7 separate regions of the Homo sapiens genome follow, and regions 1, 2, 4, 5, 6 and 7 are each linked to region 3. Evidence: promoter capture Hi-C in 16 types of primary human blood cells and fetal thymus (Javierre and others, 2016). All regions are on one chromosome and are shown on one strand. The core of a region is centred on a gene start or on the middle of the fragment in contact, and the rest is flanking DNA. Distances in the headings are between cores, read along the strand shown. Region 1 holds the start of MMP17 (matrix metallopeptidase 17). Region 2 overlaps SFSWAP (splicing factor SWAP). Region 3 holds the start of RAN (RAN, member RAS oncogene family). Region 4 has its middle 4.5 kb from the start of SFSWAP. Region 5 overlaps SFSWAP (splicing factor SWAP). Region 6 overlaps SFSWAP (splicing factor SWAP). Region 7 overlaps LOC101929974 (a long non-coding RNA gene).

What was found. Contacts are between HindIII fragments. The CHiCAGO score rates a contact against its expected background, and 5 or more counts as called.
Region 1: the fragment with the promoter of MMP17 here is called in contact with the fragment with the promoter of RAN in region 3 in 1 of 17 cell types (monocytes); the score reaches 5.2 in monocytes.
Region 2: a fragment that was not itself captured here is called in contact with the fragment with the promoter of RAN in region 3 in 3 of 17 cell types (endothelial precursors, total B cells and naive B cells); the score reaches 9.2 in endothelial precursors.
Region 4: a fragment that was not itself captured here is called in contact with the fragment with the promoter of RAN in region 3 in 4 of 17 cell types (total B cells, naive B cells, fetal thymus and 1 more); the score reaches 11.2 in total B cells.
Region 5: a contact is called between a fragment that was not itself captured here and the fragment with the promoter of RAN in region 3, in 4 of 17 cell types (naive B cells, total B cells, endothelial precursors and 1 more). The highest score is 7.5, in naive B cells.
Region 6: a contact is called between a fragment that was not itself captured here and the fragment with the promoter of RAN in region 3, in 3 of 17 cell types (total B cells, endothelial precursors and erythroblasts). The highest score is 6.8, in total B cells.
Region 7: a fragment that was not itself captured here is called in contact with the fragment with the promoter of RAN in region 3 in 1 of 17 cell types (M0 macrophages); the score reaches 5.2 in M0 macrophages.

Annotation. Positions count from the first base shown.
Region 1 is chr12:131,826,507-131,830,192 of GRCh38, reverse strand. It overlaps MMP17 (matrix metallopeptidase 17), which reads right to left and starts at 1,800. Exons shown (of 10, transcript NM_016155.7): 1 at 1,540-1,800. The coding sequence starts at 1,698. RefSeq lists an enhancer at 1-73 and a silencer at 1,806-1,935. The HindIII fragment of the contact is 25,913 bases long and covers 1-3,686 here.
Region 2 is chr12:131,736,625-131,740,199 of GRCh38, reverse strand. All of the region lies in intron 7 of SFSWAP (splicing factor SWAP), which reads right to left. Among named protein-coding and RNA genes, the nearest start is that of SFSWAP, 27 kb to the right of the region's middle. RefSeq lists an enhancer at 2,466-3,575. The HindIII fragment of the contact is 752 bases long and covers 1,798-2,549 here.
Region 3 is chr12:130,870,054-130,873,574 of GRCh38, reverse strand. RAN (RAN, member RAS oncogene family) reads right to left here and starts at 1,509. Exons shown (of 7, transcript NM_006325.5): 1 at 1,449-1,509; 2 at 946-991; 3 at 655-739; 4 at 447-572. The coding sequence starts at 981. RefSeq lists silencers at 995-1,204, 1,255-1,394, 1,465-1,924 and enhancers at 946-1,707, 2,205-2,284, 1,708-2,469. The HindIII fragment of the contact is 6,850 bases long and covers 1-2,576 here.
Region 4 is chr12:131,704,954-131,708,210 of GRCh38, reverse strand. No RefSeq gene overlaps it. Among named protein-coding and RNA genes, the nearest start is that of SFSWAP, 4.5 kb to the left of the region's middle. The HindIII fragment of the contact is 5,398 bases long and covers 1-3,257 here.
Region 5 is chr12:131,761,586-131,765,007 of GRCh38, reverse strand. It overlaps SFSWAP (splicing factor SWAP), which reads right to left. Exons shown (of 18, transcript NM_004592.4): 12 at 322-552. Among named protein-coding and RNA genes, the nearest start is that of SFSWAP, 52 kb to the right of the region's middle. The HindIII fragment of the contact is 2,006 bases long and covers 536-2,541 here.
Region 6 is chr12:131,782,040-131,785,585 of GRCh38, reverse strand. The region is part of intron 14 of SFSWAP (splicing factor SWAP); the gene reads right to left. Among named protein-coding and RNA genes, the nearest start is that of MMP17, 45 kb to the left of the region's middle. RefSeq lists an enhancer at 1-879. The HindIII fragment of the contact is 2,853 bases long and covers 868-3,546 here.
Region 7 is chr12:131,497,964-131,501,315 of GRCh38, reverse strand. The region is part of intron 1 of LOC101929974 (a long non-coding RNA gene); the gene reads left to right. Among named protein-coding and RNA genes, the nearest start is that of LINC02414, 150 kb to the left of the region's middle. RefSeq lists an enhancer at 1,672-1,721. The HindIII fragment of the contact is 1,083 bases long and covers 956-2,038 here.

The DNA.
Region 1 (3,686 bases), core at 551-3,050, 960 kb before region 3:
CCGCACTGGGTCTGATCAGCCAACATGGCTCGGCCGGGGGTCCATCCTCCTGAGTGTGTGGGCCCCACCTTGAGTCCTTCCCTGGCATTGCCCCGGCCCCTTCTGCGGCACCCTCGGACCTGGAAGGCGGGCCTGGGTTCACCTCCCTCCACAGCTGGAGACCCCAGGCCCCCAGGGCGTGATTCTCAGTGGGGGATCCGGGAGATCCGCACCTACAAAAGGGTCTTGAGGAGGTGGAGGGGGGCACCCCAAGTTCACAGGCTGCCTGGCTGGAAGGAAGCCACTGTGGGGACCTGCAGGCACCTGGACGCGGGCAGCAGGGACAGTGGCCAGCACCCTCCCAGATGGCTTCGGGGCCTGGGGCAAACGGTGGCCAAATCGGCTTCCCATCCAGACCCCCTGGCCAAGTCCTGCCAACCACAGGGGCTGCGGGTGCCACCCAAGTGGCCCCTCCATATGCCTCGACTGCCTGAAATACACCTGCGCTGACTTGCTTGGACCCCAAGGTTTTGGAGCTCCTGAATGTCCACTGCGCTGGGCGAGGGGCCCTGCCAGGACCCCACTGGGAGACTGTCCGCGGACGAGGGCCAGGCCGAGTACTTGTGTGGGGCGGGGAGGCCTCGGCTCCTGGCCCGACTCCCTGGGTAGGAGTCCATTGAAGGCAGCGGTGGGGCAGGAGCCTCAGAAGGAACCAACGAACCCAGCGGGAGTTCACCCGGCCGCCCCAGCGGGGGGGCGCTGACCCCACGACGTGTGCTCTAAATCTTCCGGGTCCACAGGAGACGCGAGTCCCGGCTGCGGAACAGGGGAGGGGGCTGTAGGAAGAGGCCACGTCGCTGCCCCCAGGCAGGGTTTCTAAGCTGAGCTGGGGACAGCTACTGGGTGTGGAGTGAGGAAGGCTCTCCCCGCGCCCCCGGCTCAGCACTGTACCAGGGCAAGGCAGGGCCAGCCTGGCCGACCTGGGGTGGAGGGGAAGGAGGCTGAGGGCCAGGTCCTTGTCCAGTGGGGAGCTGGGGGCCAGCATCCCTGTGCCCCCAACACCCTCAACCGAGCAAACTCGGGGGCTCAAGGCTTTCGGGGTGCCCCCACTCCGTAGCCCCTGCCCTTCCTCGCTTTGTGGGTGCGTGCTCCTGCCCCCGCCACTCCCACCCGGAACGCACGCAGCGCGCAGAGCTCGGGGCGGCCGCGATGCCTGCTCTCGCCCAGCCCGGCTGCTCCGGGGCTGCTGCAAGCCGGCGACCCGGGCTCCGGGTGGGCGACCCCCTCACAACTCCACGGGCTCCTGCGGCTGCGGCGCGCTCCCAGCGCACGGAGCCGGGACGGCAGCCGGCGCCTCCCCAGGACTCGCGTGCGCTCGCCCGGTCGCTCAGCCCGCGTCCCTGCCTCAGTCTCCCCACCCAGGAAATGGGTCCAGGGCGCCAGGGCTCCCGCGCGACGCCGACGTGCACTGCTGGGGTCTTCCCGGTCCCCGCCACCCGGCCCGCGGAGACCCCCGGCTCCGGCCCAGGAGCTCCGCGCCCGTCCCGCCCGCGCGCTCACCACTCCCAGGCTGAGGTCCTCGGCGCGCGGCGCGGGTGCGGGCGCGGCGCAGCCCCCGCGGGTCCCCAGCGCCAGCAGCAGCAGCAGCGGCAGCGGCAGCCGCGAGAGTCCGGGCCCTGGGGGCGGCGGGCCGGGTCCCCGGGCTGCGCGGCGCCGCATGGCGCTCACATGGGCCCGCGGGCGGCGTGCAGGGTCCCGCGCCCTCCGCTTCGCGTTCCGCAGCCCGGCGCCCTCCGCTCTCCGCGGCGCCCCCGCCGGACTGAGCCCCGCGCGGCAGCCTCAAGCGGCGGGGCGGGGCCATGCAAATGTATGCTAACGAGGCCGGCCGCCTTAAAGGGCCCGCGCCGCCTCGGACGCTGCCACCCCCGCCCGCCCCGCCGTGTCCGCGACGGGACTGGGTCCGCGGCATCACAGGGAAGGCGTTTCCCCGGGTGTCTTAGGACGCTCTTGGGGCGGCGGGGACGCGCGGGATGGGCGCGGAGGCGGGGGTCGGGGCGCCTGCGGGGAGCTGACCCTGACTCCCCTCTCCGGCCGCGCTCCCGGGTCCACCCCCCACGGCGCCGAGGCCCGGGTTCAGACCCGGGTTCAGGCCCCGGAGCCGCCGCCGCAGCGCAGCAGGTGGGCGCTTGGTGGAGCCCGCGGACCGCGGGAGAGGGAGGGTGGGGCTTGGGGGGCGCGGGGGACTGGAGGGCGAGGGCGGGTGTTGGGGGGGCTGGGGTCCTCGGCGGAGGCTCTGCGGTCCCTGCGGGCCTGGGAGCGAGAATGTTAACTTGTAATGTTTGTTGGAGCGCAGCGTGTGCCTGGCACATGCCCAGGAGTTACATAAATAATTTCATTTACTTACAACATTTATGAGATGAAAACTATGATTTCCATTTCGCAGACAAAGAAACTGAGGCCCAAAGAAATGAAGTAACTTATGGGAGGTCCTGGAGCGGGCAAGCGGCAGAGCCAGGGTCAGAGCCCGAGCAGGCGCTTGTGTGGATTGAACTCGTGCAAGTTGCGTACAGGCTGCCCACCGAGTGGGAGATCTTGGGAGAGGGCAGGGGGTGAGGTTCAAGGGTAACCCTTGCCTTTATTCAGCTTCTCCTCGTGCTGGACAGCATGGCTTCCCCTCCTTCCCAGGCCCTCCTGCTCCACCACCCCAAATCGCAGCTGGTACTGTCAGGACTGAGGTCTCATTCTACGGACAGGGAAACTGAGGCTCGGCCCCTTTTACCAGAACTGGTCTCAGGGAAGTGGTGCCCCTCCCCTCCTGTGAGGGCCGACTCCCCCCAACCACCCCCCCCCCCCCCCCCCCGCTTCCCTGGGTACTCTGGCCCATCCTGTCCCTGCTGCCCTCAGAGCCTCCCTGGCCCGGTCTGAACAGGGTGATTCCACACCTGCTTCAGATGACCTTGGTTCGGACTGATGGGATCACCTGTAGGAGGTGGGGACTTTCACAGGACATCCCGGATTGTTTTTTCTTTCTTTCTTTTTTTTTTTTTTGCTCTGTTGCCCAGGCTGGAGTGCAGTGGCACGATCTTGGCTCACTGTAATTTCTGCTTCCTAAATTCAAATGATTCTCCTGTCTCAGCCTCCTGAGTAGATGGGATTTCAAGCGTGCACAACCGTGCCCAGCTAATTTTTGTATTTTTAGTAGAGACGGGGTTTCACCATGTTGGCCAGGCTGGTCTTGAACTCCTGACTTCAGGTGATCAGCCCGCCTTGGCCTCCCAAAGTGCTGGGATTACAGGCGTGAGCCACCGCACCTGGCCTCATCCGGGATTTTGACCAAGTGCATCAGGACAACCTGGTTTCCAGAGCAGAGACCCAGCCAAAGCGGCTGTAGTCAAGGAAAGGAAGCGTATGGGTATGGGCTCAGGAAACGGTGGCGTCCTAGCGTGTGCCAAAGTCAGGCAGGGCTGGACCAAGTCTCACAGCAACAGCGTCAGAACGCGGTTTCTCTCAGTCCATCTCTGTGTGGGGCAAAGACGGCCCAGGGCAGCTCCTGTGCATCCTTCCCCCTCAGCAGGCCCAGCCAGAGACAGACTCTTTCTCAACCAATGGTCCCAAGGCCACCTCTCTCTGGATTCTGGGTCAGGACCTGATCGTGGGGCCAGGGGCAGGGAAGTGAGCTGAAGCCCTGGGCTGGAAGGGATTCTCTA
Region 2 (3,575 bases), core at 924-3,423, 870 kb before region 3:
GCAATGAAAGCAAACCAACCAATGAACAAACCCAAATAGGTAGTCATGACCCATCCAGCTACCCCGGGCCACCCTGCAGTGGAAAGGACAGTGTCAGATTCTAGTTCCCAGAGATCTGAGAGGCCCACAGCATTACCCAAGAGTTTTATACCCAGACAAGCCGTCCTGTTCACATAAAGGTCAAAGGCAGGCATTTTTCGACAGGCAGAATTCATGAACTACAGCCCTTGTAAAAACGTACTTGTTTATGAAATTCAAATGATCAAGAAAAGATGAATCGAATAAATAACTCAAAAGGAGAAGCTGTAGGGAAAAAACGAATCCAGTCAACCATAAAACTAAAAGTAAGCAACTGGGGGCTGGGCGCAGTGGCTCATGCCTGTAATCCCAGCACTTTGGGAGGCCAAGGCAGGTGAATCACGAGGTCAGGAGATTGAGACCATCCTGGCTAGTACAGTGAAACCCTGTCTACTAAAAATACAAAAAATTAATCGGGCATGGTGGCGGGCGCCTGTACTCCCAGCTGCTCGGGAGGCTGAGGCAGAAGAATGGCGTGAACCCAGGAGGCAGAGCTTGCAGTGAGCCGAGATTGCGCCACTGCACTCCAGCCTGGGAGACAGAGCAAGACTCCATCCAAAAAAAAAAAAAAAAAAAAAAAAAAAAGCAACTGGGGAATAATAGAATGCAAATACTATTTATAAACTCTCATAATATAAAAATAATATTTCTATACTTTAAAGGAACCAAAGTCATAAATATAGTATATTGACTGTCCTACTCACTCTTAAATATATTTCTATATCAGCATATTCAAATCATTTTAAATGGTTACAAAACTAAGAAGCACTCATATCCTAGCGGTGGCAATGCATATTGACACAATGTTTCAGAAGGCAACTGCTCAGTCACTGGTAATACTTTAAACAAATGCACATACTCTTTGACCTAGCTGTTTATTTTCTAAGATTTTTATCTTGCATATAGAATTATACCACATTAGTGCTTAAAAGTAATAAATAATTGGCAGGGCACAGTGGCTCATGCCTGTAATCCCAGCACTTTGGGAGGCCAAGGTGGGTGGATCACTTGAGCCCAGGAGTTTAACATCAGCCTGGGCAACATAGCAAGACCCTCTAAAAATTTATCTAAAAAGTCAGCCAGGTGTGGTGGCACATGCCTGTGGTCCCAGCTGGTCAGGAGGCTGAGGTGGGAGGATAGCTTGAGGTTGCAGTGAGCCAAGATCACGCTACTGGACTCCAGCCTAGGTGACAGAGCGAGAGACCCTGTCTCAAAAAAAAAAAAAAAAAAAAAAAAGAATAATGTTCATTACAGCACTGGAAAAGTAGAAATAATTGGAAGTCACAAATAATCAAATTATCAATTAATGGAGGGCTGTTTCACAATAAATCTATACAACAGGATACTAGGTAGTTGCTACAGCTAGAAGAGAGAGATACACATGCACTGTTAATACAAAGATGTTCGAGATATATTAAATGCAAAGAAAAAGTTGAATAATTCTAACAAAAATCAGGAAAAATACACAGCTTTAAAAAATATCTACAATGACAACCTCTCAATGTTCTCCTAACCTTTTTTCAGAACTGAATTCTTTAGGCATAAAAGAAACTTTCATCCGAAGTTCGACAGTTACTTCATTTTTAGATTGCAGGCTCTTCTGTTTAAGTAAAATTAAGTTTATTTCCACTTTAACGTAAGTATTTCTAGAGACACATCCAACATTTTAATTGATATTCGTGCATAAAGATGATCTTTGTGTTCCACAGATAACAAGCTTCTTTCTTTCCTTTTTATTTAGCACGATGACCTCAGTGTTTTCCACTTTGCTAATGATGTTCACTAATGGCTATTTCTGGATGGTGGAATCCTGGGTAACATTTTTGCTTTCTTCCTTCTTCTCTTGACATACAATAAAACCATTTTTAAAAATGGGTTTGGAAAGTAAGTAAAGAACTTCAAAGTCATGATGTGCAGGAAAAATATACCATAAACAGCAAAGGCACATTTAAAAAACAGGGATAGAAGCAAGAAAATATCTATAGTAGCCATGCGCAATGGTTTAATTTCACTTCAGATATTTATAGAATATTAAGAAAAACTGAGTTGGCATTTTATTAAAAAAAACCCACAGGCTATCACAGTGGGCAGCATTTCACTATGACTGCCTCCTGCATAATTACTTTTATTTATTTATACTCTTCTATAAGGATTTATAGCTAAATAGCAGAAGACAAGTAATGAAAAATAAAGAGCATGAAAAGTAGTTCATTGTCAGGAAAATTAATAAATGAAATAAATTGTTAGTTTTACACATCTATATTTAATGAGCTTCTAGAAAAATTATTTTATACACATATTTTATATATATATAAAATTCTGCTGGACTTTAAGGAAAAAAATAGATGCTTTTCTTCCCAGGCTGCCAAAATGTAGGAAAATCTCCATCAGTAGGAAGTAAATAAGAAAGAACGACTGAGTATATCCTAAGGTGATTATTAAATACCCAGCGTATGAAAGCCAGAAAAGCTTAGTGACCCAGCAGCCTCCCACGAGACACAGCAGTACTGGGTATGCAAGTCTCTACGGGGGAAAGATGTTACGGGGGCCACTTCCGCCTAAACAAAAACACACTGAGCTGATGAAACAAAATGATAAAAGCACGTATTATTAAAATACAGAGTTGTAAGGAATTAACTCAGGATACCAGTTTAGTCTCAAAATAAGTACCACGTCAATCTGCATGTTTTGAGAGGGTGACGAGTCACGCTGAAAAAATGCAAGCAGCGCAAACGGGCAGGTGAGTCAGCCACTCCTGTCTGCGACCTCGTCCTTCCAGTTCCCCTCTCTGTGCTGGCCACTGGTCCTTCTTACCTGCCCTTTTAGGTGCCGATACAGAAGCACTACAGACACTTCCCTCCCCTTCTGACGTGAACAGACTGCCTCGTGCTGCCCTCCCCTTGAGTCACCTCGCCTCCACCCTCAGGAAGAGCCATTCCGGTGGGTGGCCCTGCAGCGCTCGGGCCCTGGCCCACCCCCAGAGCTCTGCAGCCCACCGCGAGAGCACACCAGAGGGACTCCATTAGTCCTCCACCGAGGATGTGCGTCGCCTCAGTCTTTTGCTACTACTAAAACTGTACTATGATGAGTATCTATGTGGCTATGTTCACCCATATACTAGTAAATGAGAGCAGACATCCTGGGTTGGAGGCACGTGTGTTTTAGACTGATAGACTGCCCGCTGGCCCTCCACAAGTACCACATCGCTGGCACAAATCTACACCCCCACCGACAATAAACGTCTGTCACCTTTTCTCTGCTTGAGTGACAGCTGAAAAATGGCACTCCATTGTAGGTTTTGTCTGCATTTCTTTTATTTAATCTCTATTATTAAGCTACCCAAACTCGCATATACAAAATAACATTCCAACAGCCTAGAAATCTCCGTCTTCTCCTAAGTCTTAGACCTGCACAGTGTTCTGTATGCCTATGAGTGCGCTCCTTTCTACTGTAACACGAAGCCTCACATCCTAACATTCGCTGGAGCTGAGCTGAAC
Region 3 (3,521 bases), core at 260-2,759:
CAAACAATTTAACAAGAAATCAGCTAGTCTTGTATAACACTTGTTAAGATCTCCTATCTCCTCTGGTCTAGTATCTGGTGTTTATTGTTTTCTAATACAGTAAAAACATTCATTGATCACCACACCAAAATACATACATGAACCTAAGTTTCCAAATACTGAAACTGCTGTTAACAGCCTATTATTGTTTTAAATATGACTTATAAGTCCCAGTGTAAGTCATAGTTTTTTCTAAAGCATGCCTAGCATGACACAGCATGCAAATGACACAACTTTAATAAAATTTTCTCTGCCACCAAAATGGTGGTCAACTCCCCGAAGTCCACTTGTCTTTTTTTAACCCAAAAATGACACTATTTGTTGGAACAGACCTGATTTTCTATAACCTTGAAGACTGAAGTACACAAAACCTCTCAAAAACCGTTCAGCAAGTTACAAATGCCTACCTTGGATATAATAGCCATCTCTCAGTCCACCGAATTTCTCCTGGCCGGCTGTGTCCCATACATTGAACTTAATAGGTCCTCTGTTGGTGTGGAACACTAGGGGATGAACCTCAACACCCAAGGTGGCTGAAACGGAAACGATGCGATTGAGTGGATGAACTTACCCATTTCTCACATATTTCCACAAGCAAGGTTTTCCAGCACATACCTACATACTTCTTCTCAAATTCACCAGTCAAATGACGTTTCACGAAGGTCGTTTTTCCAGTACCACCATCACCAACCAATACAAGCTGTTGAAAAACACATTTTGGAAGTAAACCCTAAACACTTCACCTCTCAAGATCCCAGAGTCACGGAACTTTAACCACCACAGGCTCACTTAAAACAAAGAATGTGGATGCGGGGCCCCATTACAGCCATCGTGGCCCCAGGAGGAGGGACCCGCGAGTCGCACGCGGTCGGGCTCGGCCGCCTCCCGCCCCGCAGGGTTACCTACTTTGAACTGGACCTGGGGCTCTCCCTGCGCAGCCATCGCGGCGTTCCTGCGGAGGCAGAGGACGGAGGCGAGCGCTCGCGCGGCCCCGCAGCCCATGGCGGCCCCGCTCCCGCGCCCCCAGCGCCCCACGTGCCCGCCCCACAAAGGCCTCCCGCCCGCGGCGCCATGGCGGCCAGGCCTGGGAGCGGGAAGGCGGCGGGCGGGGCCGGCATCCGGGGCGGCGGGGCCCGGGGAACGGCGGCCGGAGGTGTAGGGATGGGAACGGGACTGGGACCGGGACGGGGATGAGAGCGGAGGATGAAACGGGGGTTCGCGGGGGCTAGCGCCGACCCCACGCCCGTCTCCTGCCCCGGCCCGGCCGGGCCCGCACCACCCACCTACTCAGCCGCCCGCTGCCCCTGGGTCCGCCACCCGCCCCGGCCCTGGCCCCGGCTCCGACCCCTATCCCGCCGCCGCCACCCCTGTCCCCGCCCGGCCGTGCCGGGCCCGCCGGGTCGCGATACCTTCCAGAAGCGTCTCCGCGCCCGTCCGACTGAGGCTGGAAAGATGGCGGAAGCGCAATTCAAACGCCGGAGACGCAGCCGACGCCGGCGCGAGAGCAGGGGCGGGGCCGGCGCGGGGCGGGGTTGCAAGGGGCGGGGCAACGGCGCGGCGCCCGCCCACGTGGCCCGCGCGTGCGCGCACGCACGCAACGCGGTTCGGTCGGCCGCTCGGGCGGTCGCTGCGCTTAGGGTGGGGCGGGAGGCGCGGTGGACCGCGTGGGAGGGCGAGCCGGGAGCGCGTACGCAAGCCGGCCGGTGGGGACCGCGTGCGCCGACGCCCCGGGCGGGCTCCCGGGCGCGCATGCGCTGAAAGCGAGGCGGCGCGCCCCTGAGCGGGAGACGTTGGGCGCGGCCCGACGGTCGCGGCTCTCCTGCCTCCCGGGTGGGAGGCGGTACTCGCTCGGGCAGACGTGGTCAGGCACGCGGCTTCCAGGCGCTGGCCAGCCTGTCCTTGTCTGTGCCCCGTGGGGTGGGGGTTCTTGAGGTCCTGGGGCTTAGGGTGGCTCGCGTGCGCGCAGGACGGGTGGGTGACAGAACGAATGAATGAATGAATGGGGTCTAGGCCCGTCCTCCAGAGGCAGCCCGCTGTTCTGTCTCTCCAGATCGTAGCCTTCACGCCCCCAGGACCAGGGCCAGTTGGAGAGCGAGGAACCAGAGAGGGATGCACCCACCCAGAAAAACGGCTACTTATTTTTTTTAAGAGACGGAGTCTCGCTACGTTGCCCAGGCTGGTCTCGAACTCTCAGGCTCGGGCGATCCTCCCGCCTCAGCCTCCCGAGTAGCTGGGACTACAGGCGCGCACCACATCAGGGGTAATTTTTTAAAAATTTTTTTGAGAGACAGAATCTAACTATGTCTCCCAGGCTGGCCTCAGGGGATCCACCCGCCTCGGCCTCCCAAAGCGTCCGGCTTCTCAAAGCGTTTCATAGGTTGGCAGCTTTGGCCGCTGCATGCTACAGACAAAATGATGAAATACTGTTTGCAGTCTGGACGCGTCTACCAGCCCTAGTTACCAACGGGGACGGAATGAGTAAGTGCTCAGCTTCCCAGCCCCCTGTTGGCCTGAAGCTGTAAGAGCCCAAACAAGCTTGAGCTAGAGGGACCCGACTTCCTGGGCGCCCCTGCCGACATGCAGACAGATAAAGGCCCAAATCAGCGCAGTCAAGCGCCTCAGAAGAGTCCACCATGGGGAGAGAGCCGCAGTGACCGAAGAGTCCTCCCTGCAGTCCTGAGCACACTTGCAGGCGAGTCCGCTAGGAACCCCAGTGACGCAAATTAGGCACAAAGCAGGCGACAACCGGCCTGCTGGGAACGCAAGTCCGAGCTCCCCCAGAACCCTCAGGGGAACCCCAAGCACCTCTCAGACGCTGCTGGCGGGAGAGCAGAATCTAACAGTAAAACGGGAATGCCCATTGCTTGTGACCCCGGATTTCCATTTCTAGGGAGAGGCCCCAGAGTTAAACTCATGCCTCACGCATGTGCACAACATTTAATACTGTATAACATTTAAAAGGAATGACGGTCATCTGTTTCAACAGGGTTAGATAGATGTCAAAAGGATAGTGTTGAGAAAAGAAGAAAGAGGTGATAACAGCTTTATAAAGTCTAGGCCACCTGTAATCCCAGCACTTTGGGAGTCCGAGGTAGGAGGATCCCTTAAACCCAGGAGTTACAGGCTGCAATGGGCAATGATCTCACCATTGCACTCCAGCCTGGGAGACAGAGCAAGACCCTGTTTTCAAAAATTAATACATAAAACCTAACACTATATGTAACTTTATCTAGAGGGATTATATATATAGTATAATGTCATTTATGTATATTTTTTACAAATACACATAAAACAAAAGCATATTGGCTATTGGATATATGTATTTTGTTGTTTTTTTTAATTGACTGCAAGGATCTATATACCATATCCTGATGGTTATTGCTTCAAGAAAGGGTAGAAAGGAGTGTGATGGAACTGAGAAGAGGAGTCAAAGAAGACTTTAACTTTACCTGCAATGTTCTATTTCCTTTTTTTTTTTTTTT
Region 4 (3,257 bases), core at 179-2,678, 830 kb before region 3:
AAAAGCAAATGAAAAACTTAAGCAGCTAATTTATGAGAAAAAAAATTGTATTTTGATGTATTGAACTCACTGTACATTCTATCTTTCTATCCTTCTCTGCCTACTCAGAATCTCCTAACTTCTTATCTCAGTTACCTTCCTACCCCAAAGACAAAAAGAAAGCTAAACAAATGCCTTATATAGTTAGGCCCTCAGATTAATAAGTCTGCTTCTTTAATCACTGTTATGCCTTGTTCAGAAATCTTTTGAGTTCAGAGCAACAGTGAAAGGTTTCAAAGGAAAGCCCCCAGAAATTTTCTTGGAGGTAAAAAATTCTCCTGGAGTATATGATCCATGATTCCTTGATCTTTCCCAATTTATTCATATGATACTGGGACTGGTGATACTTGAAAATGGATGGCTGAGGTCAAATGGGAGGTACTTGAGAAAGATATCAAAGATCTAACCATTCAGTCTTTCAGGGATGGACTAAAAACCGGCTAGGGAAATCTCATATGTCAAAATAAAGATCACAAGATCTTAAATTTGGAAAGGAGAACTTTATTTCTGAGAAGAGTTGCAACCCACAGCCTGGGAAGCAGACCCTCTGGCTGAGACAGAAAGTAGGCACTTTGAAGGAAGAAGGGTGGGAGAGGAGTTTTATGCTAAACAGGTTGGCTAAACATACATATTTAATAGGTTATAGGAGGAGCTATGAATATTTGTGAAAGGGGCTTGCTAGGTTGTGTGGTAAGCAAACATTCATGTTACATGGTCCCAAGTTCACTTCAGGGTGGAGACTTCACATTAAAATGTAATACAATTAGTCTGTGTAGGTCAAAAGGTGAAACTTAGGATTGTTTGAGTGTGGAAGGTCAAGGCTGCAGTGAGCTGTGATTGTGCCACTGCAGTATAGTCTGGGCGACAAAGCAAGACCCTATCAAGACCTTGTCTCAAAAAAATAGGTGAATAAATAAGATTAAAGAACTGTAAAAACCTAAGAATAAACATGCAAATGTGTGTTTTGTAAAATTGTTTTCAACTGACACATAATAATTGTACATATTTATGGGTACAGTGTGATATTTCCATTGCATGTATACAATGTGTAGTGATCAAATCAGATAATTAGCTTATCTATTGCCTCATTTATCATTTATTTGTGCTGAGAACATTCAAAATCTGCTCGTTTAGCTATTTGAAACATACTATAAATTGTTAATTATAGTCACCCTGCAGTGCTATGGAACACTAGACTCATTCCTCCTAACTAGCTGTACTTTTGTATTTGTTTTTTATTTATTTTTATTTATTTATTTATTTATTTATTTATTTATTTATTTATTTATTTGAGACAGAGTCTTGCTCTGTCATCAGGCTGGAGTGCAGTGGCACCATCTCGGCTCACTGCAACCTCTACCTCCCAGGTTCAAGCGATTCTCCTGTCTCAGCCTCCCAAGTAGCTGGGACTACAGGTGTGCGCCACCATGCCCAGCTAATTTTTGTATATTTATGTATTTTTAGTACAGATGGGGTTTCACCACGTTGGCCAGGATGGTCTCATTCTCTTGACCTCGTGATCTGCCCGCCTCGGCCTCCCAAAGTGCTGGGATTACAGGCGTGAGCCACTGTGCCTGGCCGACTACTTTTGTATTTTTTAATCAACCTTTGGCTATGCCCCCTTCTCCTGACACTTCTCAGCCACTACTAGCCACTATTTTACTCTCTACTTTTATAAGATCAACTTTTTAAGCCTCCACATATGAGTGAGAACATACAGTATTTATCTTTCTGTGCCTGACTTATTTCTCTTAATAACCTCCAAGGTTGTCCATGTTGCTGGTATGACATAACTTTATTCCTTTTTTTTTTTTTTAAGACGGAGTTTCACTCTTGTTGCCCAGGCTGTAGTGCAATGATGCGATGTCGGCTCATGGCAACCTCCACCTCCTGGCAACCTCAGCCTCCCAGGTTCAAGCAATTCTCCTGCCTCAGCCTCCCTAGTAGCTGAGATTACAGGCATGAGCCACCATGCCTGGCTAATTTTGTATTTTTGGTAGACATGGGGTTTCTCCATGTTGGTCAGGCTGGTCTTGAACTCCTGACCTCAGGTGATCCACATGCCTCGGCCTCCCAAAGTGCTGGGATTACAGGCATGAGCCACCGTGCCCAGCCCAGAACTTTATTCCTTTTTTGTGGCTAAATAGTATTCCATTATGTGTATATACACTGCATGTTCTTTATCCATTCACTTGTTGATGGAGAATTTTATGCTGGAGAATGTTCCATGTACTGATGAAAAGAAAATGTAATCTTCAGCTATTAGATGAAAGATTCTATAAATGTCTGTTAGGTCCATTTGATATAAAGAACAGTTTAAACCTAATGTTTCCTTGTTGTTTTCTGTCTAAATGACTTCTCCAGTGCCACGAGTGGGGTGTTGAAGTCCCCAGCTGTTATTGTATTGGAGTCCATCTCTCCCTTTAGATCTAATAATACTTGCTATTTATGTATCTGAGTGCTTTGGTGTTGGGTGCATGTATATTTATTATATCCTCTTGCTGAATTGATCCTTTTATTATAACATAATGACCTTTTCTCTTTTTACAATTTTTGCTTTACAGAGTCTGTTTTATCTGATATAAATACAGCTAATCCTGCTTGCTTTTGGTTTTTGTTTGCATGGAATATCTTTTTCTATCCCTTCACTTTCAGTCTATATGTGTCTTTAATGGGTGTAGTGAATTTCTCGTTGGTAGCATATAGTTTTGTCATTAAAAAAAATCCTTTCAGCCAGTCTATATCTTTTTAGTGGGAGAATTTAACCTGTTTTAATTCAAGGTTATTATTAATATGCAAGGACTTATTCCTGTCATTTCATTGACTGTTTTCTGGTTGTTTTATATATCCTTTGTGCCTTTCTTCTTTGCTTATTGTTTGTTATTTTGGTTTGGTGTATTTCTGTAGTAACAGGTTTTTATTCTTTTCTTTTCTTTTTTTTTGAGACAGGGTCTCACTGTGTTGCCCAGGCTGAGTACAGTGGCATGCCCATGGCTCACTGCAGCCTCAACTTCTCAGGCTCAAGCAAATCTCCTGTCTCAGCCTCCTGGGTAGTTGGGGCCACAGGCATGCACTGCCACACCTGGCTAATTTTGTTTTTGTAGAGATGGGATTTCACCATGTTGTCCAGGCTGCTCTCAAACTACTGGGCTCAAGCAATTTGCCTTCCTCGGCCTCCCAGAGTGCTGGTACTACAGGCATGAATCACCCTGCCCAAC
Region 5 (3,422 bases), core at 289-2,788, 890 kb before region 3:
TACCCTGGGGCTGCCAGCCAAGTGCAAAGTGAGCTGCCATTAATGCATTCCACTGTGGCGCATTAGAGCTAAGACGGCCAACTCAGTTTCTTCGAAAACAAACTGCCAGCGGCACTGCATTTGAGGCTCAGTGAAGAGCAGAGCTCATTCCTCTAAAAGAGAACGTTTCAAAACCTCAGACATGTTACACAACTCCCAAATAGGTCGATTTCCAAAGGCTTCAGATTCTAGTTGGCAGCCTCGAGATTTTTTGGCTTAGCAGATAAATCTTATATTTGTGTATTTCCTTTCTTTCAAGAAGTTTAAAAGCTATCAACAAACCTTGCTTTGCTTCTAGCTCCTCCTGGGTAAGTTGAGGCTTCTTCTCCTCAACAACTACACAGGGTGGGGCAACTGCTGGGTTAGTGTTTGCAGCACTACTAGAACTTTCTTGGCCTTCTTTGCTTTCTTCATCATCATCACTGTCATCATCTAGCTTAACACGATTTTTTTCCAGGGGAAGCAGATCATTTTCTTTGGCCTTGATTGCAAAGCTTATTGGAGCAAAGGAAGCTATTGAGGAAAGGTGAGAATTATGATACATGTTACAGAGTGGAAATCTTTGCAGGCCCTGCTACCCACCTGAGCATCGGCTGCTGGGAAGGGGATGACTAGCATGGAGCCACATCATATGCAGGGTCTACGGTGGGGGACGCCGTGCCGTCAGAGCAGACCTGTGCAGATGTGCACTGCATGGCGTGGGGCTGGGGTGAGCCCCTGAACCATGCTGTGAGAACCGCACTGACTGGGGACTTCATGGCAAGGGCACACTCGCTGATGCCAGGGCAGTCACCTGCAATTTTAAATGGCCAATTCTTGTCATTTTTCTTTTCTTTTCTTTTTGAGATGGAGTCTCGCTCTGTCGCCCAGGCTGGAGTGCAGTGGCACGATCTCGGCTCACTGCAACCTCTGCCTCCTAGGTTCAAGCGATTCTCCTGCCTCAGCCTCCTGAGTAGCTGGGAGTACAGGCGCCCGCTGCCATGCCTGGCTAAATTTTTCTATTTTTAGTAGAGATGGGGTTTCACCATGTTAGCCAGGATGGTCTTGATCTCCTGACCTCGTGATCCGCCTGCCTCGGCCTCCCAAAGTGCTGGGATTATAGACGTGAGCCACTGTGCCCGGCCTCATTTTTCTTTAAAAAAAAAAAAAAAAATTCATGGCTCAGCATATATCTAAATTTGCTTCAGGAGGCATATGATGTGACTCCACTATAAACAGGTCTCTTTAAAAAATTCCCCATGATAAAAAATAGCCTTTTCTTACAAAGCAAAAATTACAGAATCCATGCCTTTATTCAGCAAACATTTTTACCTACTTTGTGACAGGCATTATGTTAGACCATTTTCCACACCTGTAAGAAAATGTCAAACCCAGCGTGACAGAAGTTTAGAAGCAATCCCTCCTCTTAGAATATCCAGAAGGCTTAAATTTAAGGGAAATATGGAGGCCCTAAAGAAAAAATCATCTTTCCCGCCCCACCACTCAATGAACACAGAGTCCCTTTCTCTTTCAGATGCTGTGATAAATGGCTCTTGACAAGAGCTAACTGGTTGCAATAAGATACAGTATTTTAAAAAACCATCAGTTGTTATTTATGAAGAATATTCAAGGCACCCACAATGAAGGGGATGCTAAGTGCACCGCAAACCAGGTGACTGAGAGGGAAGTGGGTTCTGGGTAAACAAGGCCGCTTCTGGAAGGGCTGCAACTTATGTTTGTGATGCCACCTCTGTAGCACAGGGTGGGCTACCTGGCTGGCCCCTGGCGGAGGTCCTTCCGCTTTAGCATTTTATGGCTCCAAACCCGCGTGTGATGTGAAGTAGACAGTTAAGCATGTGATAGCCCAGACCCTCTGAAATATAACCACTTTTCATCAACAACTGCCTCAGGGGACAGGGCACACACAAAGATACTGATACCGGGACAGCAGTATTTTATAACATCAAAATAAAAAGCAGCAGGGCCGGCAGCTGAAGCCAGATGATGAGCACGTGTGTGGGGCGTGAGTGGTCATTATGTGATATTCTGTTTTCGTACATGTTTGAGATTTTCCATAAGAAAAAAAAAATTGGCCGGGTGCAGTGGCTTACGCCTGTAATCCCAGCACTTTGGGAGGCCAAGGCAGGTAGATCACAAGATCAGGAGTTCAAGACCAGCAGGGCCAACACGGTGAAACCCTGTCTCTACTAAAAATACACAAATTAGCTGGGTGTGGTGGCGGGCGCCTGTAATCGCAGCTACTTGGGAGGCTGAGACAGGGGAATCACTTGAACCCGGGAGGCAGAGGCAGAGGTTACAGTGGGCTGAGATCACGCCACTGCACTACTCCAGCCTGGGTGACAGAGTGAGATTCTATCTCAAAAAAAACAAAAAACAAAACAAAACAAACAAGGGGCTGGACTAAAATATATCACAAAATGATTTAATAACAATTATTTCCAAACCATCTCCCCAAATTAGAAAAATACGCAATCAACAAATAAGAGTATTAAGATGAAAGCTTCCAGAACACCTTCTAGCAATGCTTATTTCATTTTACATTTTATTTTATTTTTTTTGAGAAAGGGTTTCACTGTGTTGCCCAGGCTGCAGTGCAGTGGTGCAATCATAGCTTATTGCAGCCTTGACTTCCTGGCCTCAAGCAATCCTCCTGCCTGAGCCTCCTGAAGTGCTGGGATGACAAGCATGAGCCACCGTGCCCAGCCTCAAGTAGACTTTTTTTTTGTTTTTTTTTTGGAGACGGAGTCTCGCTCTGTCGCCCAGGCTGAAGTGCAAAGGCGCGATCTCAGCTCACTGCAACTTCTGCCTCCCAGGTTCAAGCGATTCTCCTGCCTCAGCCTCTTGAGTAGCTGGGATTACAGGTGCTCGCCACCATGCCCAGCTAATTTTTTGTATTTTTAGTAGAGATGGGTTTCACCATGTTGGCCAGGCTGGTCTCGAACTCCTGACCTCAGGTGATCCACCTTGTCCGGCCTGTCAAGTAGACATTTTAAAGCTAGTATCTATGCAAACCAAACACAAAGCCAAAACCACAGCTACTCACTCTAAGAGTGGCCTATGGCACACAGCCCACAGGCCTCCCTTACTCAGCCTTTACAGCTCCACAGGATGGACACTGAGAGGCTTCCCATTTTACAGATGGGAAAACCGAGGCTGAAAAGATTAACTAAGTTTCTCCAGGTACCTCAGGTCAGTACAGGGAATCAGGAATTGCTTCTTTATGTGGAATTTTTCAATCACAAAATTGTTGCTTCTGCCTAGAATCTTCCTTGCAGATCACGTCACAGCACATGGAAAGCATGTCCTACAGCTTCAGTGAGTAGGTCTCACGCTGCATTCAGAATAAACCCAGTTCCTTCCCAAGGCTGCCACGTCCCTGAGTG
Region 6 (3,546 bases), core at 1,045-3,544, 910 kb before region 3:
AGTTCTTTGTTCATTCAGTAAAGCTACTATTTTGGGAAGACCTGCAATGAGCACAAATCTGGAAAAAAAACACCATTTATTTCCATTTTGTTTCCATGACAACTCATTCAAAAACAATATAAAGAAGAGCGGTTTGATTTTGCCATTTGAAAAAGTTCTACGTTGAATCATTTTCATGACAATAAACCGCAAATGCCACAGGCTGTGCTTCTGCAGATCAGCTCGGGATCACTCAGACCCCGGCATCCTGGAGGGCCAGGAGTGGCTGCCCTTTAACGGACAGAATCGTTTTGATTTTTTCCCAGACCTTTCCTAAGATTTACAGAACAGATGATAAAGGCGAGGTCAGTTAGACACCTTGACGTTTTACCAGGTTTTCCCTCAAAAGAGCTCGCGGAGTCAAATCTGGTGGTGGTCGAGGCTGCCTGATAACTTCCTGGCTCGGCTGCCGCTGTCACTGACGCGCTGCTCTGACAGGGCTCCGCGCGCAGCGTCCCTGGGGAGGCTGTGACTCTGTGACACGGAGGCACACACTTCACATTCAGAATAAAAGGTGCTGGGCTGGGCGCTACCAGAACTCTGAAAAAAGCTCTGCTTATTCAAAGCTATAGCGGCTGGGGAATGCTTACACGTAGAATTCTACAATAAACTCAATAATCAGGAAAAATAAGTTAGTTTTTAAGGCCTGCAAATTCTTAACTTTGAAATACAATACCATTTTGTCATGGCTATTAGTAATAGAATTCTTTAAAGGGAAGTGGCTGTTACCAGTAGATTTTCAAGTTATCTGGGGAAAACGCCCATCTTAGAACGAGGGGCTACATACCATTAGACAATTCTCTAAGTTTGACTTTAGCTAAAGAAGCTTTAATGCTTTTTATTCTGTTAATTAGGCTTCTCATATTGACCCCACAACATGGTGCAAGAAACAGGAGTTCCATTTAATAAGCAAATCATCCGTATAATGTGACCAGGGGCCTTCTTAAAGATGAAATGGTCTGAATTAAACACTTGCAAGCATAACGTGACTCACAGTTTTTTTTTTTCCTCAAAAAAGCATAATGGTTTGCTTTCAAATAGAAACATAATGAGACTTTTTTCAATGATAACAGTCCAGAAATTTTATCTGAATGACAGTGGTCATATTCATAAATAGCCTCTTTTCTCCAACATTTAACCATTTCATCTACTCCACTTCCTCCATTCACGTCTCTACCCACGGCCTTTCTGTCACGGAATTCTCTGTGCAGATGACTCAGCATCAAGGTCTGGGCTCTACCAGCAGCTCCCGGGGCTGAATTTTCCTCAAGTTGAAACTGGATCTGATTTCACCTGCAATTCCTCCTCGTGTCCCAGCCCGGTGACAGCCACTGCAGCTCCCCTCCTTCCTGGACTGCTCAGTGCAGACACCCTCTGGTCTTATCTGTGTTTGGCTACAATTCACTTTGATTCACTTTGCAAGGGATGGAACGACGGTCCTCACCTTGGCATGATCAACACTACCACTTGGGGAACTGCAAGCATCTGGTTTCCCCCTTTAAGGGGCAGGATTAGGAGATGAGTCATCGCTTTTACGGATTTGCTATGCAATTTATTGTGGGTAAAAAGGGCAGTGAGGAGCCACAACTTTCAACCTAAAATAGAAACCCAGTGTGGCCTGAGTCCCTTCTGAATGCTAAACAAGACTCCTAAGAAAAGTCTTCCAAATCCCCAGTCTCCTTCACCAACCCCAAGTATTTAGGGAGCTAATTTCTACAAAGAATTATATATATATATATATATATATATATATAAAATGTTTTTTTTTGAGACGGAGTCTCACTCTGTTGCCCAGGATGGAGTGCAGTGGCGCGATCTTGGCTCACTGCAAGCACCGCCTCCCGGGTTCACGCCATTCTCCTGCCTCAGCTTCCTGAGCAGCTGGGACTATAGGCACCACCACGCCCGGCTAATTTTTTGTATTTTTAGTAGAGACGGGGTTTCACCGTGTTAGCCAGGATGGTCTCAACCTCATGATCCGTCTGCCTCAGCCTCCCAAAGTGCTGGGATTATAGGCGTGGGCCACCACGCCCGGCCAGAAATATATTTTTATCATATAGCTCTCTATACTGGAAGATATCTTAAAATGACAACATTCAAAGATCTATCTAGAACTCCCAGAAGCCCAGGCTAACTCTGAAGATGCATTTAGATAACTAAATGAACACAAGAGACTATCTTAGCAAAAGTTTTAAAAATAAACTTAGTTTCAAGCTGATACTTATTAAAATTTAATTTCAGGTTGTAAATGAACTACATGAGTACTTCTTCATTCCATTAACATAGAGAACCAGATACAATATCAAAATACAAATGAAAACAGACAATAAAAGTATTTTACTTTAATCTTTTTTTTTTTTTTTTTTTAGACGGAGTCTTGCTCTATTGCCCAGGCTGGAGAGCAGTGACACGATCTTGGCTCACTGCAATCTCCACCTCCCGGGTTCAAGCAATTCTCCTGCCTCAGCCTCCCGAGTAGCTGGGATTATAGGCGCACACCAACACGCCTGGCTGATTTTTGTATTTTTAGTAGAGATGGGGTTTTACCATGTTGGCCAGGCTGGCCTTAAACTCCTGACCTCAGGTGATCCACCTGCATCAGCCTCCTTAAGAGCCGGGATTATAGGCGTGAGCCACCGTGCCAGCCTCAATGTTGATGTAAAAGACACTAAATACTACCTTGTCGTAACTAGTATACTTTTTGAGAAGCAACATAGTGATTTTCCAAAACTAAAGATTCTTCCATGACTAATTTGCCTTTGGAGATCCAGAGTCGCCCATAACTTAGACATACTAAATACATGGGACTTCAACCACAGGAACAGTATAGCCATTAAATAAATATTCGTTGTGCTGTAAGAAGGCTTTCTAATCTTAACTTTCTGTATTTTATATAGAATTTTAGTAATTTAATATATAAAACAAAATACATTCCATGTAGCATCCTACCCAATTAGAAATATTAACAACTGCGGTATTCTACTGTGGGCTGGCAGCAGTCATGAAAAATGATCAATTAGGTCTGTTCAGGCCCAAGTGACAAGTCCGATCCATTCTGAGTGGAGGCTGCGTTTGTAACAGTTTATTCTATCTGATAACAACAGCATTAACACTTTCAATATTTTGGTTAAAATTTAGTTATCTTTTATACTCCAATAATTCATATTACTGAGGAGATCACCACCCCTCCCATTTCTAACTTGCATTTTAAAGCCACTTGGATCCCTGGAAATGATTATTGCTGGCAGAGCTTGGATGGAGGAGGCAGGTTTGCAGCCAGTTTAGAAAAATGCAATCCTACTAAATAAAACACGCACTCACTGTTCCCAGAAGAGCTGAGGCAGAATTCCACAAGAAAAGGTTATGGTGAGAAACCACCAGCTTCTTCTTCTTCTTGTTCTTTTGTCATAGAGAATATGTTGATCAGGCTAGATTCGATCTCCTGGGCTCAAGGAATCCTCCTGCCTCTGCCTCCCAAGCATCTGGGGCTTGACTAGCTTGTTTAAC
Region 7 (3,352 bases), core at 248-2,747, 630 kb before region 3:
GTGTGCTTGTCTATTTACCATGGGGTTACATCCCAATAAACCCACCATAACTTCAAAAAATCATAAGTTGAACCATTGTAAGCCAGGGACCATCTCTACTTTAAATCATCTCTAGATTACTTGTAGTGCCTAAGACAATGTGAATGCTGTGTAAACAGTTGTTATACTGGCTGTATGCAGTGGCTCATGCCTGTAATCCCAGCTATTCAGGAAGCTGGGATGGGAAGATCACTGGAGACCAGAAGTTTGAGACTAGAAGTTTGAGACCAGCCTGAGCAATATAGTGAGATCTTGTCTCTTAAAAGAAAGAAAAGTTGTTATACTTTATTGTTTAGGGAATAATGGCAAGAAAAAGAAGTCTGTACACATACAGTGCAGATGCAACCATCGTAGGCCTAACTACATTCTGTATCCGAGGTTGGTTGAATCTGTAGATGCAGAACCTGCGGTTACATAGGACCAACTCTACTCAGAGGAGGGCCTGCATAGAGTAGGCCCCCAGTCAGCGCGGGTGGTCATGATTAGGTAACTTGTGACAGGGCGCGTGATTTTTAAGTTTCTCTGTGGGTTGGGTTGTCACTCAGTTCACTGATACCTCTTCAGGCGACCTCCCCTGCTGGTCTTGTATCTCTAGAACCCCTTTCTTATCTGAAGGGTGTGTCATCTGTGGTGGGTTTCGGGACCCCCCCCCTTGTGACTGGGCACACCTAACCAGTAACTAGTAAGCAGCTGGGCACGGAGAGGAACCCATCAGACCATCACTGAGCATCTTCTGTGTACATCCATAATGCCAGGTCCTCACCAAGCACCTACTATGTACGTAACTGGTGCCAAGCCATTATTGAGCACCTACTGTGTACACTCACAGTGCTAGACCATCACTAAGCACCATCCAATGCCAGGTAATGACTGGGAACCACCATGTACATGTACAGTGCCATGCCATCACTAAGCTTGTCGTGTACATCCATGATGCCAGACCATTGCTAAGCACTTACTGTAGACATTCATATTCCAGGATCTCAAGGCATGATGATAGTGGGTCTGGACCCTCACTGGCTCACATCCTGGCCTTTCCTCTCCATCCTTACTTTAACCCGGTCAAGAAGAACAGCCTGGTTTCTGATTCATCATGTATCAGAGACACATTTTCAAGAATTCCATTCATCCAAACATGTAATAGGTTCGAATTTTGAGCCATGCAAAACTGAAACTTACAGTAATAGCTAATACTACCTCCAAAATAACTGCACAACATTCAGTCTTAGTCAATTGTAAGTAAATGTGGTTATATCACAGTTGGGCTCAGTCAGTTCAGGAGCTCCCTCTCTCCATCTTTTCTCTGGGAAGGCATGAGTCTGATGCATCTGGCTTCTGGCCCATCATCTCCCTCCCTCACAGACCTCTGGAGAAATGTCCATCATAATCTGGTCCTTGCAAATTGATGGGTGGATGGACAGATGGATGGAAGGAAGAGAAGGAGACAGCTCAGACTAGTTATGCCAAATGCACTGAGGGCCTCCCCACAAGCCCCACTCAGGGTTGCCTGGGAGGGTATTAATCATCTTCTCTCCCAGTCACTTCCTCTCCTGGCCAGACTTAGAAAGGTGAAGACTGACCTCACACCAACCACAGCCTCACTGTCACCTGAAACATCTTGAGCAAATCAGCACAGCAAAGAAAAAGGAGCTTCCAGGTCAGACACTGGTTTCTCCCCTAGTTACTCTGAAGGAGCCCCAGGGAGGATTTGAAAAATTAACAATAGAGAGTTAAGTGGGTGAACTGCTATGTTTTTTTTTTTAACAAATGGATAGAAATGAGATGAATTAAAATAGAGTGATATCCCTGGGTGGTGTTTGAGGAGTAGACACACTGTTGGTGCATGTAGAGAATGACTCAGGCTGTAGATTATAGTCTTGGCTGCACATAAGAGTCACATGGGAAGATTTAACAACCCTGATTTCCAAACTGTGCCCCAGCCCAATTACATCAGGATCTGTGAGAATGAGGCCAGCCAGGATCCAGTCATTGCAAAGCTTCCCAGATTATTCCAGTGGACAGCGTCTTTGAGAGCCACTAGTTTAAAGTCCCCTTCTTATTGGGCTCTGGAGGTTTCTGTCCCACCCAGGCCTGGGTGCAAGGTGGGTGGGGTATGGGCGAATGTTGGGGGAAGTCTACAGCTCTCCTGCTTCTGGAGCTGCTGCCTCCCTTGGGCCATCCTTCTTTCCTCCTTCCTCTTCAAAGCCATGGTCTCAGTTAACAGAGAACCTGGAAAATACTCTCTTCTTGGTGCTGAGTTCTCCTCAATAGCCGAAGTCCTGGATGGGCCTGAAGAGTGACATTTGTTTGTTGGACATTCAGTCTTCACATTCTTCTTCCATATCTGGGTCTACATTCCCTGCCAGATCCTCTCCCCCAGTCCAGGACTCCAGATGTGACTTTGCTTTGGGCTCCAGGGAATGGGTCATGCATCCTAGCCTGGATCAATCAGAGCTTCCATTTGGGCCACAGTGATGGGTTCAGGAACAAGCATGCAATTCAAGCAAGGACTCTGGCATCCAAACAGAGGAAACCCTGGTCTTCTGCTTGAATGGCTGAGGAAAGGTGGTGGACCTTTCTTGAGATTTTTGAATCATAAACTGGAGGATGGTAAGGTTGGAGTTACTGGACAGAGCTGCTTTGAGAATAAAGGTAGCACAGAGAAGGAGAGCAGAGACTGGACTCTGGTGATGTCACCTGGGCACTTGGATCAAGCCAGGCCTGAAGTCACCACACTTTCCAGGTAAGTGCACCATTAATGTCTCTTCTCATTTATGCTGGCCTGGTTTTGGTTTGCTGTTGCTCACGACAGAAAGGATCCTGACAGATGCGATGGTCTTCAGGTTCTCATGATCTGGCTCTTGTCCTGTCCAACTCTAGTTTCTTTGCAAACCATGCAGCATCTCCTCTTGGGGCTCAGATCACTTGGAGGGATCTTAAAGAAGTTCAGCATGGAGCCAGATGGCCTGGTTCAAATTCTGGCACTGCCGCTTATGAGTTGTATAACCTTAGGCAAGTTACTTATCTGTGCCTGCTTCCATATCCTCCTCTACAGTATGGGAATCATGATTGTACTAGGTTCATTAAGCTGTCTTTACTCCTGAGGCTACACTGAGGAGTAAATGGGGAGATTAATTTAAAGCAGTGGAAAGTAATTGTAGACACAGTGAGCCTTCTGCCAGTGTCAGCTCTTGCTATGACAACAACTTTTGTACCTAAAGGGTGTGCGTCCTACTTTGGGCCTTTGCTCCTGTTGGTCCCACTACCTGGAATGCCATATCCTTTGATTGCATGTCCTTCAAATGTTAGCTCC